2 separate regions of the Homo sapiens genome follow, and region 2 is linked to region 1. The links are contacts of gene promoters, found by promoter capture Hi-C in human tissues and cell types (Jung and others, 2019). All regions are on one chromosome and are shown on one strand. Each heading gives the region's core, a stretch centred on a gene start or on the middle of the fragment in contact. The rest is flanking DNA. Distances are from core to core; before and after follow the strand shown. Region 1 holds the start of SPATA3 (spermatogenesis associated 3). Region 2 has its middle 24 kb from the start of GPR55.

The links. Contacts are between HindIII fragments. The study calls those that stand out against the background at their distance.
Region 2: a fragment that was not itself captured here is called in contact with the fragment with the promoter of SPATA3 in region 1 in 16 of the 25 tissues and cell types used here (H1 embryonic stem cells, IMR-90 fibroblasts, adrenal gland and 13 more).

Annotation. Positions count from the first base shown.
Region 1 is chr2:230,993,010-231,000,451 of GRCh38, forward strand. It overlaps SPATA3 (spermatogenesis associated 3), which reads left to right and starts at 3,112. Exons shown (of 5, transcript NM_139073.5): 1 at 3,112-3,525; 2 at 7,357-7,442. The coding sequence starts at 3,225. SPATA3-AS1 (SPATA3 antisense RNA 1) reads right to left here and starts at 3,023. Exons shown (of 6, transcript NR_033879.1): 1 at 2,839-3,023; 2 at 2,268-2,376. RefSeq lists an enhancer at 2,623-3,156. The HindIII fragment of the contact is 25,386 bases long and covers 1-7,442 here.
Region 2 is chr2:230,945,333-230,952,774 of GRCh38, forward strand. It overlaps a transcript of GPR55 not described here. Among named protein-coding and RNA genes, the nearest start is that of GPR55, 24 kb to the left of the region's middle. RefSeq lists enhancers at 1,270-1,429, 4,727-4,776, 4,987-5,056, 5,247-5,296, 5,427-5,486. The HindIII fragment of the contact is 9,664 bases long and covers 1-7,442 here.

The sequences.
Region 1 (7,442 bases), core at 1,862-4,361:
AGAGCTGGACACAGGTAGTAGTAGTGGCTGATAAGCACTGGGCAGTGGGCTGTGGCTGTATTATGGAAGAGCCAGGCTTCCTGTATAGGAACAGGTGCTCAAACAGAAAGCAGTGGGGCCAGGCGCAGTGGCTCATGCCTGTAATCCCAACACTTACGGAGGCCAAGGCAGGCAGATCACTTGAGGTCAGGAGTTCGAGACCAGCCTGGCCAACAGAGTGAAACCCTGTCTCCACTAAAACTATAAAAATTAGTCAGGCATGGCGGCGCATGTCTGTAATCTACTCAGGAGCCTGGAGCATGCCTGTAAGCTACTCGGGAGGCTGAGGCAGGAGAATCAGTTGAACCCGGGAGGTGGAGGTTGCAGTGAGCCAAAATTGGGCCACTGCACTCCTGGAGACAGAGTGAGACTCTGAAAACAAAAACAAAAAGAAGAAGAAGAAGAAGGTGGGGGCTGCAGGGAAGACGTTCTAGCAAGGAGCTATTGAGGGACCATTCTTCCTCATTCTTCTGGGACAACCTCTTTCCACAGGTGCCCTCTCTCTGCTTCTTGGGACCACTCTTACTAAAGAATTCACACATATTTTTGCTGCTGCCACAGAGAAATTCCCCACTCCTCCCTCGGCCTGCCCTCTGTGCTTCCTCCATCTTTCTACAGGAAGACAGAGACTCATTCTCTGTGCCCTGTTTGGCTCCTTCTGGTAAAATGGAATATTTCTTTCATTGCTACCAGGAAGTTCTACCTATATGTGTCTGCTCCTATCTGATTCATTTACACCAACATGGCACAATCAGGGGCAATGTGGACACACACACTCCTACCCCATCTCTAGGGGACATTTAGCAATATCTGGAGACATTTTGGGTTGTCCTGGGGTAGGGGGGAGTAAAGACTGGGTAAAGACCAGGGATCTGGTAAACTTCCTACAATACACAGGATGACCCGCCACAACAAAGAATTACTCAGCCCAAAAATGTCAACAGGGCTGAGGTTGAAAAACACTGATTTAAACCAGGTTGAGGCCCTCGGCCGAAGCCCATTGGTACCTGAAAATCCAACTTTGCAGAGATTAATGCCTTAGGAGTTCCTGAGCTGTCTGCTAGATCTCAACAGGGTTCCCGGCCTCGGTTTCCAGTCTCTCTGATTCTAAATGGAGTCCCCTCAAGGGTTCCATTGCTCTTGGCTTCAGGAAATTACCAGCTTCATACAGATTCACTTGCTCCCAGAGCCTCCTTAGGCCAAGGTCAACCAAACACAACCCAATACTCTTGAGCTGAGCTTGCCTTCACTTCTGATCCTTCCTGCCTTTGTTTTCTTCAATCTTCTCGCTCAGGGACCTTTTTTTTTTTTTTGAGACGAGTCTCACTCTGTCGTCAGGCTGGAGTGCAGTGGCACAATCTCGGCTCACCACAACCTCCGCCTCACAGGTTCAAGTGATTCTCCTGCCTCAGCCTCCTGAGTACCTGGGACTACAGGCGTGCACCACCATGCCCAGCTAATTTTTGTATTTTTAGTAGAGACAGGTTTTCACCATGTTGGTTGGCCAGGATGGTCTCAATCTCTTGACCTCATGATCTGCCCGCCTCAGCCTCCCAAAGTGCTGGGATTATAGGCGTGAGCCACCGCACCAGGCCACTGGGGGACTTTTTAATTCATTATTTCAAAGCCTGTATAATTATCTGACTCCCTATTGTTTTCTGGGATCATGAAAATAATGAGCCCCAAACTGGAATTTAGTCCTTCCGATGCCCCCAGCCAGCTGTGTGACCCTGGGAAAGTAACTTAATTTCGCTAAACCTCAGTGTTCTGAGGAAAGGTCATCATTAAGGTATTTTTAGGCTCTAGAAGCCCTAAACTATGTCCTGTCATTTCAGAGTTCATGTTGGGTCTGGCTTTGTGTGGCCCAAAGCCCCCCATTTTTTTTTAAGACAGAGTCTCGCTCTGTCGCCCAGGCTGGAGTGCAGTGGCACGATCTCGGCTCACTGAAAGCTCCACCTCCAAGGTTCACGCCATTCTCCTGCCGAGTAGCTGGGACTACAGGCACCCACCACCACGCCCGGCTAATTTTTTGTATTTTTAGTAGAGACGGGGTTTCACCATGTCAGCCAGGATGGTCTCAATCTCCTGACCTCGTGATCTGCCCGCCTCAGCCTCCCAAAGTGCTGGGATTACAGGCGTGACCGAAGCCCTTTTTATCTGCATAGGTCTGCTCTAAACCTTCCGCTGGGGCAGGAGCTCCTGCGCTTGCCAGTCCCACACTCACCCACCTGTGACACACTGGCGATGAAAGCAGTCTCCTCAGGTGAACACATTTTATGTTGCAGTCACAGTATGAGCTTCAGATTGTCTTTTAAAAATACTTTTCCTTCTTCCATCCTAAAACAAAAATCACATTTAATGAGCACATTAAATTAATTAATCTAGAGAAAGATTCAGTCACCTGTTTAACCCAACCAATTGGGGTTTGGGAGATAGTCTGTGGTTGCCATTGCCATGAGTTTGAGACAAATGTTAGTTTTCTGAACAGCTGTTATGTTCTCAGGGAAAATTATCTGCCAAATGCAAAGGTTCTTATAAAAGTCAAGTCAACCCCCAAACTCCCCTCCCACAGTGCGGGAGGGCAGGCTTTGGGGGAAGGGGTAAGCTACTCTGAGATGGTAGCAGGCTCTGGGCCATGGTAAAGCCTTCGAAGAAGCTCCAAATCTTCAGGAAGCTGACCTGAAGATGAATGCGTGGGGAACATGGATTTTTGAGGTGTAGGAGTAGGGGGTATGTGGAAGCCAGTGACAGAGCTGAGCGTCACATCCAGGGTATCTTAGAGCAAAACAGGTAGCTCACATGGACCCAGGAACACGCCAGCAGAGAGGTGTCTGAAGGCAGCGCTCAGGTCGCAGAAGCATGAGGATCTGGCTGTCACCAGCCCCGTAGCCAGGGCTGTGAGGACCAGGGCAGCCGCTGTCCCCTGCCTAGCCTGGCAGCCTGGGATGAAGGAGGACACCAGGCTGGTGTCTGCAGAGAAGACTGTCCCTTGAAGCCCTGCCATAGGAGCCACCCTGGCTTTTATGACCTCACAGGAGGTGTGGGTCACTGTTCTCTGTGGGGCCTGGGTCCAGCTGGAGGCCCAAGCCAGGCTCCTAGGGCAGAGGGCAAACGGCCCCTCCAGGAGGGAGCCGGGAGATTACGCAGCTCCATGTAGGTCCACGTTTAGGTTGGGAGGATCTACCATGAAGAAGGTCAAGAAGAAAAGGTCAGAGGCCAGACGCCACCGAGACTCCACCTCCCAGCATGCTAGCTCCAATTCCACCTCTCAGCAGCCTAGCCCTGAATCCACACCACAGCAGCCTAGTCCTGAATCCACACCACAGCAGCCTAGCCCTGAATCCACACCACAGCATTCCAGCCTTGAAACCACCTCCCGGCAGCCAGCATTCCAAGCCCTTCCAGCACCCGAAATCCGCCGCTCCTCTTGCTGCCTTTTATCTCCAGATGCTAACGTGAAGGCAGCCCCTCAATCCAGGAAAGCAGGTGGGCTGTCTTCTAGCTTCAGCAGTTCCAGCCTTCCTGCTGATGGAGTTCTGGGTCATCCCAAAGGCTGGTTCTTGTAGGATAGTGATGCATGGTTAACGTGTATCCTGGAGCTGTGCTGTAGAGTGGGAAGGTTTTTGTTTTTGTTTCTACCCAAGAGACCAGGATTCCTGGGTTTTGTCATTTCTCATCATCCTGAGTCTCACTGAAGACAGCCACACATACATATAAACATTTAACTTGGTTCCATAGTAATACTTGCTCACTAGGAATCAGCAGTGCCATGCAACTGCTAAAAAATAAAAACCAAGGATGCATTTATAGAAGTATATGGTTTAGAATAAGGGAGGTGATGATACTGCTTTATTCTGTCCTCATCAAGCTATCCTTTTGGGCTGTAAAAGATGCCTGACAAACTAGTCCAAGGAAGATAGTCTGGGTTGATGGAGGATGAGAAGGATCAGGGAGACCATTTAGTGTATGACAGTCAATTGAAGGAATTGGAGGATGTCTGTCTGTCAAGTGGAAGATGTGAATAGACTTGTTCCTTATTGTCCTCAGAGATCTAAGGGTCTGATGTGGTTTGGCTGTGTCCCCACCCAAATCTCTTCTTGAATTCCCAGGTGTTGTAGGAAGGACCCAGTGGGAAGTGATTGAATCACGGGGGAGGGTCTTTTCCGTGGTGTTCTCGTGATAGTGAATAAGTTTCATGAGATCTAATGGTTTTAAAAAAGGGAGTTTCCCTGCACAAACTCTCTTCTCTTGTCTGCCGCCATGTGAGATGTGCCTTTCACCTTCCACCATGATTGTGAGGCCTCCCCAGCCACGTGGAACTGTAAGTTCCACAAACCTCTTTCTTTTGTAAATTGCCTAGTCTCAGATATGTCTTTATCAGCAGTGTGAAAACAGACAAATACAGGCCCATGGATAGGATAGCCAGACAAAATACAAGACTCTCAGTTAAATTTTAATTTTAGTAAACAACAAATAATATTTTTAGTATGTGTGTCCCCAGTATTGCATGGGCATCCTATATTTTTATTTGCTAAATTAGCAATCTTACCCATGGAAGACATTAGTGACAGAAAGCCTTCGGCTCAACATAAAAAACTTCCCAACAATTAGCTCTGTCTGAAAATGGAATGGCTGTCAGGAAAAGTGGTTCCCTGTCTTCTTGGGAGCCAAACAGTGTCTGTATAAGCATTGGATTGTGTAGAGGGAATTCAAGTGGAGTTCAGGAGGTGGGCTGGTTTATACTACTAACAATAATGGTGATAGCAAACTAACATTATCACTAAGCATTTACTGTGTACCTAGCATTCAGATCAGGTGTCTTAATTTTCACACGTGATAATCCTATAAAAGTTCTTCCATATTATCTCCATTTTATAGATGGGGAAACTGAGGCTCATAGGAGTCAAACAGGTTGCTCCTGAGCAGACGCTGGTAGCCCTGAGAAGGGAAACCCACTCTATTCTGACTCCAGAACCCTCACTTTAAACCACAGCACTGACCTTTCCATTCCAAGAGGCCTAGGAGTCTCCACAAGAGGAAGAACATCTCTGTCCGAGCATCTCCTGGATCTGCCATGAGCCAGTGCCCACGACTCCATAGCCTTGAACAGGCCACACTCCCTGGGCCACAGTTTACCCCCCGGGATTGTGTGGGCATAAAATAAATAAGTGATGGAGATGAGAGTGCTAAATATAAGGCATGCCATGCCAATGATCCTTCCATGGCCAGGAATCAAACCTTTCTTGACATATGATATTGATTTTGAGCACCATACTATATGTTGTAAAGATTGTGATCATCAGCCAGTGAGAGAAACATTTCTGGGTTATGATCTTCAGAACTGGCATCTTCAGTACTGGTAGAAAGCAAGACTTTCCATTCCCAAGTCTTTTAATGAACACATGTGACTCATACTCAGAGAAGAATTTGGCCCATTGAACAGGCAAAGCAAGAAAGCAAGAAATGGTGGTGGCTCGCCAGTGGTTACAGCAGACACCCTATACTTCTTCCAAAGGAATTCTCTGCGTAGAAAGGAATGTTGGAGATGAAGGATGAGGGCCTGCAAGTAAAGCGTGCCATTTTCTAAAATCCAAGCCTTTTTGTGTGCAGAAATATTGTAGCTCAAGAAAATGCCAGTCTTCCACTAGGATGGGTATAATCAGAAGGATGGACAATAACAAGTGTTGGTGAGGATGTAGAGAAGCTGGAATCCTCATACACTGTAGGCGGGAATGTAAAATGGTGCAGCTGCTGTGGAAACAGTCTGGTGGTTCCTCAGAGGAACATGAAGTTACCTTATGACCCAGCAATTCCACTTCTCAGTATACATCCAAGAGAATTCGAAGCATCTTATTAAGCATATTAGAAGCACACCAAAACTTGTACACAAATGCTCAAAGCAGCAGCATTTGTAATAGCCAAAAAGTGGGAACAACCCAAATGTCCATCAGCTGATGAATGGATAAACAAAATGTGGTATGAAATACCACAGTACAATGAGTATGGTGAAATACTATTTGGCAATAAAAAGAGATAGTGTCCTGATACATGGTACAGCCTGGATGAACCTTATAGACACTTGGCTAAGTGAAAGAATCCAGTCTCCCAGAAACCCACACATCGAATGATTCTATTTACATGAAATGTTCAGAATAGGCAAATGTATTGCCAGGGACTGGGGGAAATGGGAGAGTGGGGAGTAACTGCTCATGGAGATGGGGTTTCTTTTTGGGGAAATGAAGACGTTCTGAAATTAGTGGTGATGGCCACAAAACTTTGTGAATATACTAAAAACCACTGAGCACTCTAAAAGGGTGAATTTTATTGCCTGGGAATGATATCTCAATTTAAAAACTTTTTTGTAATTAAAAAAAAAGACAAGTCTTGCCTTTAGAATCCCCTCTCCTCATTCCGGGAAAGTACGTGTCGTGGGCAAGTCTAAGCAGAAAGTGTATTGAATCTGCCAGGTTGACCACCTGTTTCATGCAGCTTAGGGTCAGAAGAATCTGTAGCTCTGTCAAGAAGACGCAGGGCTACAGATAGGAAACAGGAGGGAATAATCCAGCCAGAAATTATCTTGCCCAACCACAGAGGGCATCATCTACATTCTGCTGGGATCCATACCAGAGGAGGACAGAAACAGAAAATAGGATCGGGACTGGAAACTAGAGCTGTGGTTGTCTTCTGGATGGATCAGAATGCTCTAGATCAATGGAACGTGGCAGCTCCAATTCCAGGAATGTCAGTGCAGCCTCTCCTGAGGTGAGCAGTCACCTGAAATTCCATTTTCACTGAATTAAACGTGAGAAAGCCTGAGTTGAGAAAGCCAACTTCTGTAATCTACTCCCCAAAAGGGCATATCCCTTAAATTAGCTGAGCCTCAGTTTCCTTATTTGTAAAACAAGACCAGCAGTATCCCCTTTACAGGATTACTGTGAAATTAAATGAGATGAGCATGCTAAGTGCAAAGCATCCTGAAGGTGTAAGCCATGGCACCATCAGCACCACCTCCATCATCATCATCGTTGTTGTCGTCGCTGTTGCTACTCCCAGGTAGCACCAGTATAAAACAGCCATTTTCCCATGCGGTCAGTCTTCTCTTCTGTTTGGTTAGAGAACATTTTGTGGGAGAACTGCCTTCCTTAGGTAGTTCAGTCCCAAATCCTCAATGATGCCTTGGAAAAAATCCAGCGTTCGCCCTGGTAATCCTGCAGCTGCTGCCGTTGTGGGGGGCCTTCTCAGACTGTGTTCCAGACTCCCCCGCCCCAGCCTCCCAGGGCAGGTGCCTCCCTCACCTCTCTCCTTCTGTCCCCACAGGGCCTCTGATTCGCGCCGGCCCGCATTCCTGCTCCTGTGCCACTTGCCCCTGCAGCTCCGCTTGCTGGCGTCGTCTGGGGCTATGC
Region 2 (7,442 bases), core at 2,788-5,287, 47 kb before region 1:
ATAGAGGATTCCAATTATTTGCTGTGCATTGAGAATGCACTCCCAATGACCCAGTTTTTCCAACAAATCAATGACATGAAAAGGAAAGGGGAAAAAAAAAGGGGTGACTTGGAAAGAATGCAACCCGCGCCCTTATTTGAGCCCTGATTTGAACAAACCAGCCATAAAAAGACAGTTTTGACACAATGGAGGAATCTGAATATGGATTTCGTGGTGGACGATATTACAGATTCACTTTTTGTTGTTGTTGTTGTTTTTGAGACGGAGTCTCGCTCTGTCGCCCAGGCTGGAGTGCAGTGGCACTATCTCGGCTCACTGCAAGCTCCACCTCCCGGGTTCACGCCATTCTCCTTCCTCAGCCTCCCAAGTAGCTGGGACTACAGGCAGGTACCACCACACCTGGTTCACTTTTTGTATTTTTTGTAGAGACGGGGTTTCACCGTGTTAGCCAGGATGGTCTCGATCTACTGACCTCGTGATCCGTCCGCCTCGCCTCCCAAAGTGCTGGGATTACAGGGCTGAGCCACCACGCCCGGTCTACAGATTGACTTTTAATTGTGTTAGCTAAGATAATGGCATGGTAGTTGCATTAAAAAGTGTCCTTTTTATTCACAATAACCAAGATAGGGAAACAGCCTAAGTGTCCATCAGTGGATGAATGGATTAAAAACATATACACAATGAAATATTATTTAGCCATTAAAAAAGGGAATCTTGTCATTTGTGACAACATAAATGAACCCAGAGGGCATCATGCTCAGTGAAATAAGCCAGACTCAGAAAGACACATACTGCATGACCTCACTTATATGTGGAATTTAAAGAAGTCAAAACTCACAGAAGCAGGAAATAGGATGGGAGTTGCCAGGGGCTGGAGGGCTAGGGAGGGTGTGGAAGGGGGAGATGTTGGTCAAAGGTGTTTCAGTTAAGAGGAATACGTTCTGGAGATCTATTGTATATAATAGCATGGTGACTGTAGTTAATAGTTCTGTATTGTAAACTTGGAAATTGCTACAAGAGTAAATTTGAAATGTTCTCACCACACACACACAAAAAAGATAACTGTGTGATCGATGGATGTGTTCATTAGCTTGATTTAATCATTTCCCAGTGTATACATATATCAAAATTTCACACTGTTCATCATTCACATATCCAATTTTTGTCACGTGTACCTTAACAAAGCTGAGGACCGGAGAGTGTGGAGAAAAAAGTGTCCTCATCAGAAGAGATGCACCCTGTAGTATTAGGCCAAGATGCCACGAGGTCAGTGTAAGTGGTGGAGGGTAGAGATCAATGAACTAGAGATCAGTGAAATGACGCTGGCAGAAGCTGATGGTTGTGGAAGCAGGGTGTCCCAGTAGCATGGGACAAGTTCCCACTGCAGCCCACACCTGGACCAGGCCATAGCTGGGGCCAAGTTTCCACTCTGGCAGAGCTGGAAGAAAGCAGGCCCAGCCCATCAGACCTTTTAGGGACCTCCAGGGCCTAACTGGGGCAGGGGCCAGGGCAAGGCAGCTGTGGCTGGGGGTGCTCATGTGGTTCTTTAGGACTCCACTGAGGTTCTTTGAGACACACACCAAACTAGAGAGCAGAACATCTTAATCACATCATATTTTAGTGAACCCCAAAAAGTAAATAAGAATTGGCATAGGTTCATGCTGAACTAACCCTATTGCTCATTTCCTATGTTTGACTTCAGTGTATTCAACTTTCTGACGGCCCTGTCACATTGGCCACACCACAGACCCACGCCTTCCATTCCTTCATCATGCCCAAGCCAGAAAGAGCCATTAGCTGACAAATCGCTCCTTTCCACTATGGGTGTGGGAACCTGCCTGGCTGCCAACAACCCAGTTTGTGTATCAGTCTCCCCTTGGTCAGCACCACCAGAGTTTTGTTGGTTATGGGGCGATCTTACTGAAGTTGGTTAGGTGTGCTGCAGCAGCAAAGCTGGAGCCTGCCAGCTGCACCTTGGACGTGCACCAGCCAACTGGGCTCCAATGCAAAGGGCAAGAGCACGATGAAAGAGCACATTTGCAATCCTAGAAGATTGCATCTAAGTTGCAAGGTATAATTGGGACCCTGGTTACATTTTTAGCTCAGGGGAATAAAGCCCATCCCATACTCTCCACTCCAGTAGGGAGTGTCTGTTGGTCAACTTTATGACCTTTTTTTTTTTTTTTTTTGAGACAGGGTCTCACTCTGTCTCTCAGGCTAGAGTGCAGTAGCCCAATCATAGCTTACTGCAGCCTCGACATCCCAGGCTCAAGCAATCCTCGTGCCTCAGCCTCCCACGTAGCTGGGACCACAGGGGCACACCACCATGCCAGGCTAATTTTTAACTTTTGTAGAGACTAGGTCTTACTATATTGCCCAGGATGGTCTCGAACTCCTGGGCTCAAGCAATCTTCTCACCTCAGCCTCCCAGAGTGCTGGGATTACAAGTGTCGACCACCACATCCAGCCTTTTAGTGCTATTTTTTAAAGTACCATTGTGTTCAACTTCAGCTGGTGCCCCCCCTCCAACTCCTAACATAGCCTGCACCCAGCTACAGCGAGGCTTCCTAAAATACAAATCTGGCCCTGTCCTACCTAAGCAGAAACTCGGCATCCCGCCTCACCAGGCCACGGTGGCTTTGGTGTCTGTCAAGCTCCCCATCAGTGGATGAAGCCTGCAGTGCCCGCCCGGCTCCTTTGTGACATGGGTGTGGCCACTGACTTCAGTTCTCTCCAAGAGGTCTTGGGTGCTGCAGTTGCCACCGCCGCCCACCCCCTGGCCGCCCCCACAGCTTCCTCCCTTGGTGAGGCAAAGCACAGCCCCTATGCTTGGTCTGTGTCTCCCGCAGGCCTCTGACAACAGCTGCTTAGGAGAGCTTTCTCAGTCAGCACTGAAAGGGAACTTAGAACCAGCTGAGCTATCAGCCCCTCCAGGCCTGACTTCCCCACTCAGAGCCTCCCCCACTCCTTCCTCCCTCCCCATCTCCTGACCTCTGGGTCTGGGTGGCTGCTCTCCACACACCTCCCAACCGCACTGACCTGGGGAAGCAAGACAGATTCAACAGTCCTGATTTTTGTTTTCACTAATTGCAAAATAATAATAATAGTAATAAATAAATCAAAATAAACCAAAAAGAGAAGGAAAAATTCTCCCATAGTCCCTACCCTATATATGGAATAGAACCTACTTTCTCTCGTTGCCTTTGAGGCTTTGTTTCCAGGCAGAGCCAGCATGACATTGGCAGGCATGGTGAAGAGTCAGTTATATAATTCGGATTTTTTCACTTAGAGCTGTAGATATTCCTTCCATGCCAGTGCAGAGTCTTCATCATTATCCTTTTAAACCACATAATATTCTATTAAATGTATATGCCAGCATTTATTTAACCATTCCCCAATTATAGGTCATTTAGGAAGTTTTTCCTTCCTTTGGGAATTATTGTTTTAAAATATATTCCCTGAGGGTTGGGCGAGGTGGCTCACGCCTGTAATCCCAGCACTTTGGGAGGCAGGGGCAGGAGGATTGCTTGAGCTCAGGAGTTTGAGACTAGCCTGGGAAACATTGGGAGACCCTATCTTTACAAAAAATAGTCCGGTTTGGTGGCGTGCGCCTGTAATCCCAACTCCTCGGGAGGCTGAGGTGGGAGGATAATCTGAGCCAGGGGGGTCAAGGCTGCAGTGAGCTGGGATGGTGCCACCGCACTCCAGCCTTGGCAACAGACTGAGACCCTGTCTCAAAAAATAAAATTAATAAATATAAAATATAGTCCCCAAAGAGGAATCACTACATCAACAGGCCCTAATGCTTTTATGGCTCTTTTTTTGTTTGTTTGTTTGTTTGTTTTCTTTGAGACGGAGTTTCACTCTTCCACCCAGGCTGGAGTGCAATGGCGCAATCTCAGCTCACTGCAACGTCTGTCTCCCGGGTTAAAGCGATTCTCCTGCCTCAGCCTCTCGAGTAGCTGGGATTACAGGCACCTGCCACCACACCCAGATAATTTTTGTATTTTTAGTAGAGACGGGGTTTCACCATGTTGACCAGGCTGGTTTCGAACTCCTGAACTTGCGATCTGCCCGCGTTGGCCTCCCAATGTGCTGAGATCACAGGCGTGAGCCACCGCGCCCATCCTGCTTTTAAAGTTCTTGATAGCTATTGTAAGATTGCCTTCCTGGGAAGAATGGGGTGGATTCCATCAATTCCCCGGCCTAGATCAGCACTTCTCAAAGTGTGGCTCAGGCACTCTGTGGGGAAGGGTGGTCTTGGGACACTTTCTGGGGATCCACAAGGTCAAAACTATTTTCATAATAATACTGAAATGTTGTTAGTATTTCCTTTTCCACTGTCTTCCTTTAGTGAGTGTACAGTGGAGTTTTCTGGAGGCTGTATGCTGTGTGATACCACAATAGACTGAATAGAGATAGGAGAGGCCAACCATCTTTCATAAAGCCCAGCATCACAGAGATCTGTGGAAATGTAAAAATAATGCTTCTCTTCTCACTAAATTTATTTTTTTTTTTTGAGACAAGAGTCTCGCTCTGTCACCCAGGCTGGAGTACAGTGGCACAATCTCGGCTCACTACAACCTCCGCCTCCCGGGTTCAAGCAATTCTCTGCCTCAGCCTCCCAAATAGCTGGGATTACAGGCAACCACCACCACGCCTGGCTAATTTTTCTGTATTTTTAGTAGAGACGGGGTTTCACCATGCTGGCCAGGCTGAACGCCTGACATCGTGATCCACCCTCTCGGCCTCCCCAAGTGCTGGGATTACAGGCGTGAGCCATCACGCCCAGCCAGTTTCTTTGTTTTAATTTCTAACACAGGAAACACTGATAGATATCTACATAGATAAGAGCTTTTTGAGATCCTTAACACTTTTTAAGAGTGTAAAGGGGTCCTGAAGCCACATTGTCTGGGAACCACTGGCCTGCACATGATGTGGCAGAATGCAGAGTGTGCTGGACAGACCTTGTTCAGCCCATCGCCTACCTGCCTGTCTCCCAGGCATGGCACCCAGGACAAGACGCAGAGCAATTAGAGCAATTGGCTTTTTTGTCTTTTTATCTCTTCTTGCCACTTTTATTTTCTTCTCATCTTCTCTTTCCCCTCTTTTTTGTTTTTCTCGTTTTGCTCTTCTTTCCCGCACTCCAGCCTCAGACCTCATAACGAGAGCTGCACAGATAAGGAAACCTTCTCTGCTTCACATAAGTCAAACATTTTTTCTCACATCTAAATAGAGATTCGCGACACTGGAAATAGGTTTTTCATTATTACTAATATCATTCACAAGAAGTGACATGTGTGGTGTTATGATAAGTACACACGTGTTGGCTTTTGTCCACAGTTTCTGGCTCGGAACCCCCATAGTCCCTGTTACAGTCTCGTGTTATGACAGTGGCTGTGTTAGGCCTCAGGAAACAGAATCTCTCTGGCCTTCTCCAGCTCTCCTTTCACCTGCCGCAAGGCAGGACTCGTATCTTCCCCCGCCTTTCTGATTGTGGGTCTTAAGACTCTCCCCAGAGAGGGTTCTGTCCTATGCCCTGAGAGAAGGAACGCTGACATCATGAAGCTTCCATAAAAACCCCAAGAGGACAGGGTTCAGAGAGCTTCCGGAGAGCTGAGCACACGGAGGTTCCTGGAAGCTCCATGCCCCTTCCCCTATACCTTGCCCTGTGCATCTCTTCATCAGTGTCCTTTGTAACATCCTTTAGAATCAACGGGCTAATGTGTTTCCCTGAGTTCTGTGAGTCACTCCAGCAAATTGATCAAACCCAAAGAGGGCGTTGTGGGAACCCCAACTTGAAGTTGGTCGGTCAGAAGTTCCGAAGGGCCAGACTTGTGTCTGGGTCAGGGATAGTCTTGGGACTGAGCCCTCAACCTGTGGGCTGTAAGACTATCTCCAGGTAGACAGTGTTGGAATTGAACTGGAGGACACCCCGCTGCTGTCCGCGGCTTAGTGGGACAACCCCCCACACATCTGGTCCCAGAATTCTCCTTCTGTGTTGATGATTGTTGTCGTGGTGGTGTGAGAACAGAGGAAAAACATGGTTTGGGAGTGTTTCCCTGAAACAATATGCATATTTTTAAAATATACACACGTAATCAAAGAACTAAAAATGAAAATGAGATTTTTTCATACCAACTTGGCAGAGATTTATTAGATGGCAATGCTTAGTGCTGGCAGATGTCTAGGGAAGAGGGCAGCCTATGTGGTTTCTAGAAGGCAACTTGGCAACACATACCAGGGGCCTTAAAAATAGCCTACCCTTTGACCCAGAGGAGTTCAAAAGGCTGACAGCTCCGCTTTGTACCATTCACAACTTAGAGTTGGCTGGGATCTTGACAACTGAGGGTAAGCAGGGATTTTTTTCCCTTTCATTAGGCCCAGAGAAGGTACATTTGTGGGTTTTTTGTTGTTATTGGGGTTTTTTTTTTTTTTTTTTGTGAGACAGGGTCTTGCTCTGTTGCCCAAGCTGGAGGGCAATGGCACAATCATGGCTCACTGCAACCTTAACATCCTGGGCTCAGATGATCCTCTTACCTCAGCCTCCTGAGCAGCTGGGACTACAGGTACATACCACCAGGCCCGGCTAATTTTTTTTTTTTTAATTTTTTTGCAGAAACGGGGGTCTTGCTATGTTGCCCAGGCTGGTCTCAAACTCCTGACTCAAACCATCCTCCTGCCTCAAACTCCCAAGTGCTGGGATTACAGGTGTGAGCCACCACATCCAGCAAGAGAAGGTACATTTGGAGAGGGAGGGGGGGTTACTAGACCTCAAAGATAGAGACGACATGGTCACCTGAGCTCTCATCAGGACATGTGGGCAAACCCTCCTGCAGGCAGCAGGCCAAGGCCTATAGGGACAGGGAAAGCCTGAGGGCGGGCGCAGCTTGTGTGCCAGGAGCCACAATCCTGGTGAGCACTTTGGAATGCTCCTTCTATGCTAAAGTGCTCTCTTCTTATGCCCAAGCCTTCAGTAATAATATTGGATTAAAAGGTACTACCTGGTCTTAGCAGGTGTGATCCAGAAGTCAGCTGGAGCCTGGCCGTGCCTTGAACTCTACATGAGGTTGGCTCATTGTGAGCCCAGAGGGCTAAGGAAGGCCACAGCCCTCCGTGGGATGTCCTGTTGTGTGATCTGGGGATGGCCAATGCCCTCCCAAGTTTTCTGCACATTCCCAGGGCAGGGCTGCTGACACCTCTACAGCCTCTGCTTTTCCCATGGTGCCGCTTGTCAGTTACTTGTCTACTCTTCCAGGAGTCCTATAGAGAACCCCTGCCCACAAGGTGTCATGGGCGTTTCTGAAGCTCAGGGACTGCAGAGAGACAGGGAGATTTCACATCACAGAAACACAAGCTTCCATCGGGCATCTGCACAGCTGAAATGGCCCACGGCCACCCTGTCCCCAGGGAACATCCTCAGGCCGGCCCCCACAGGAGCC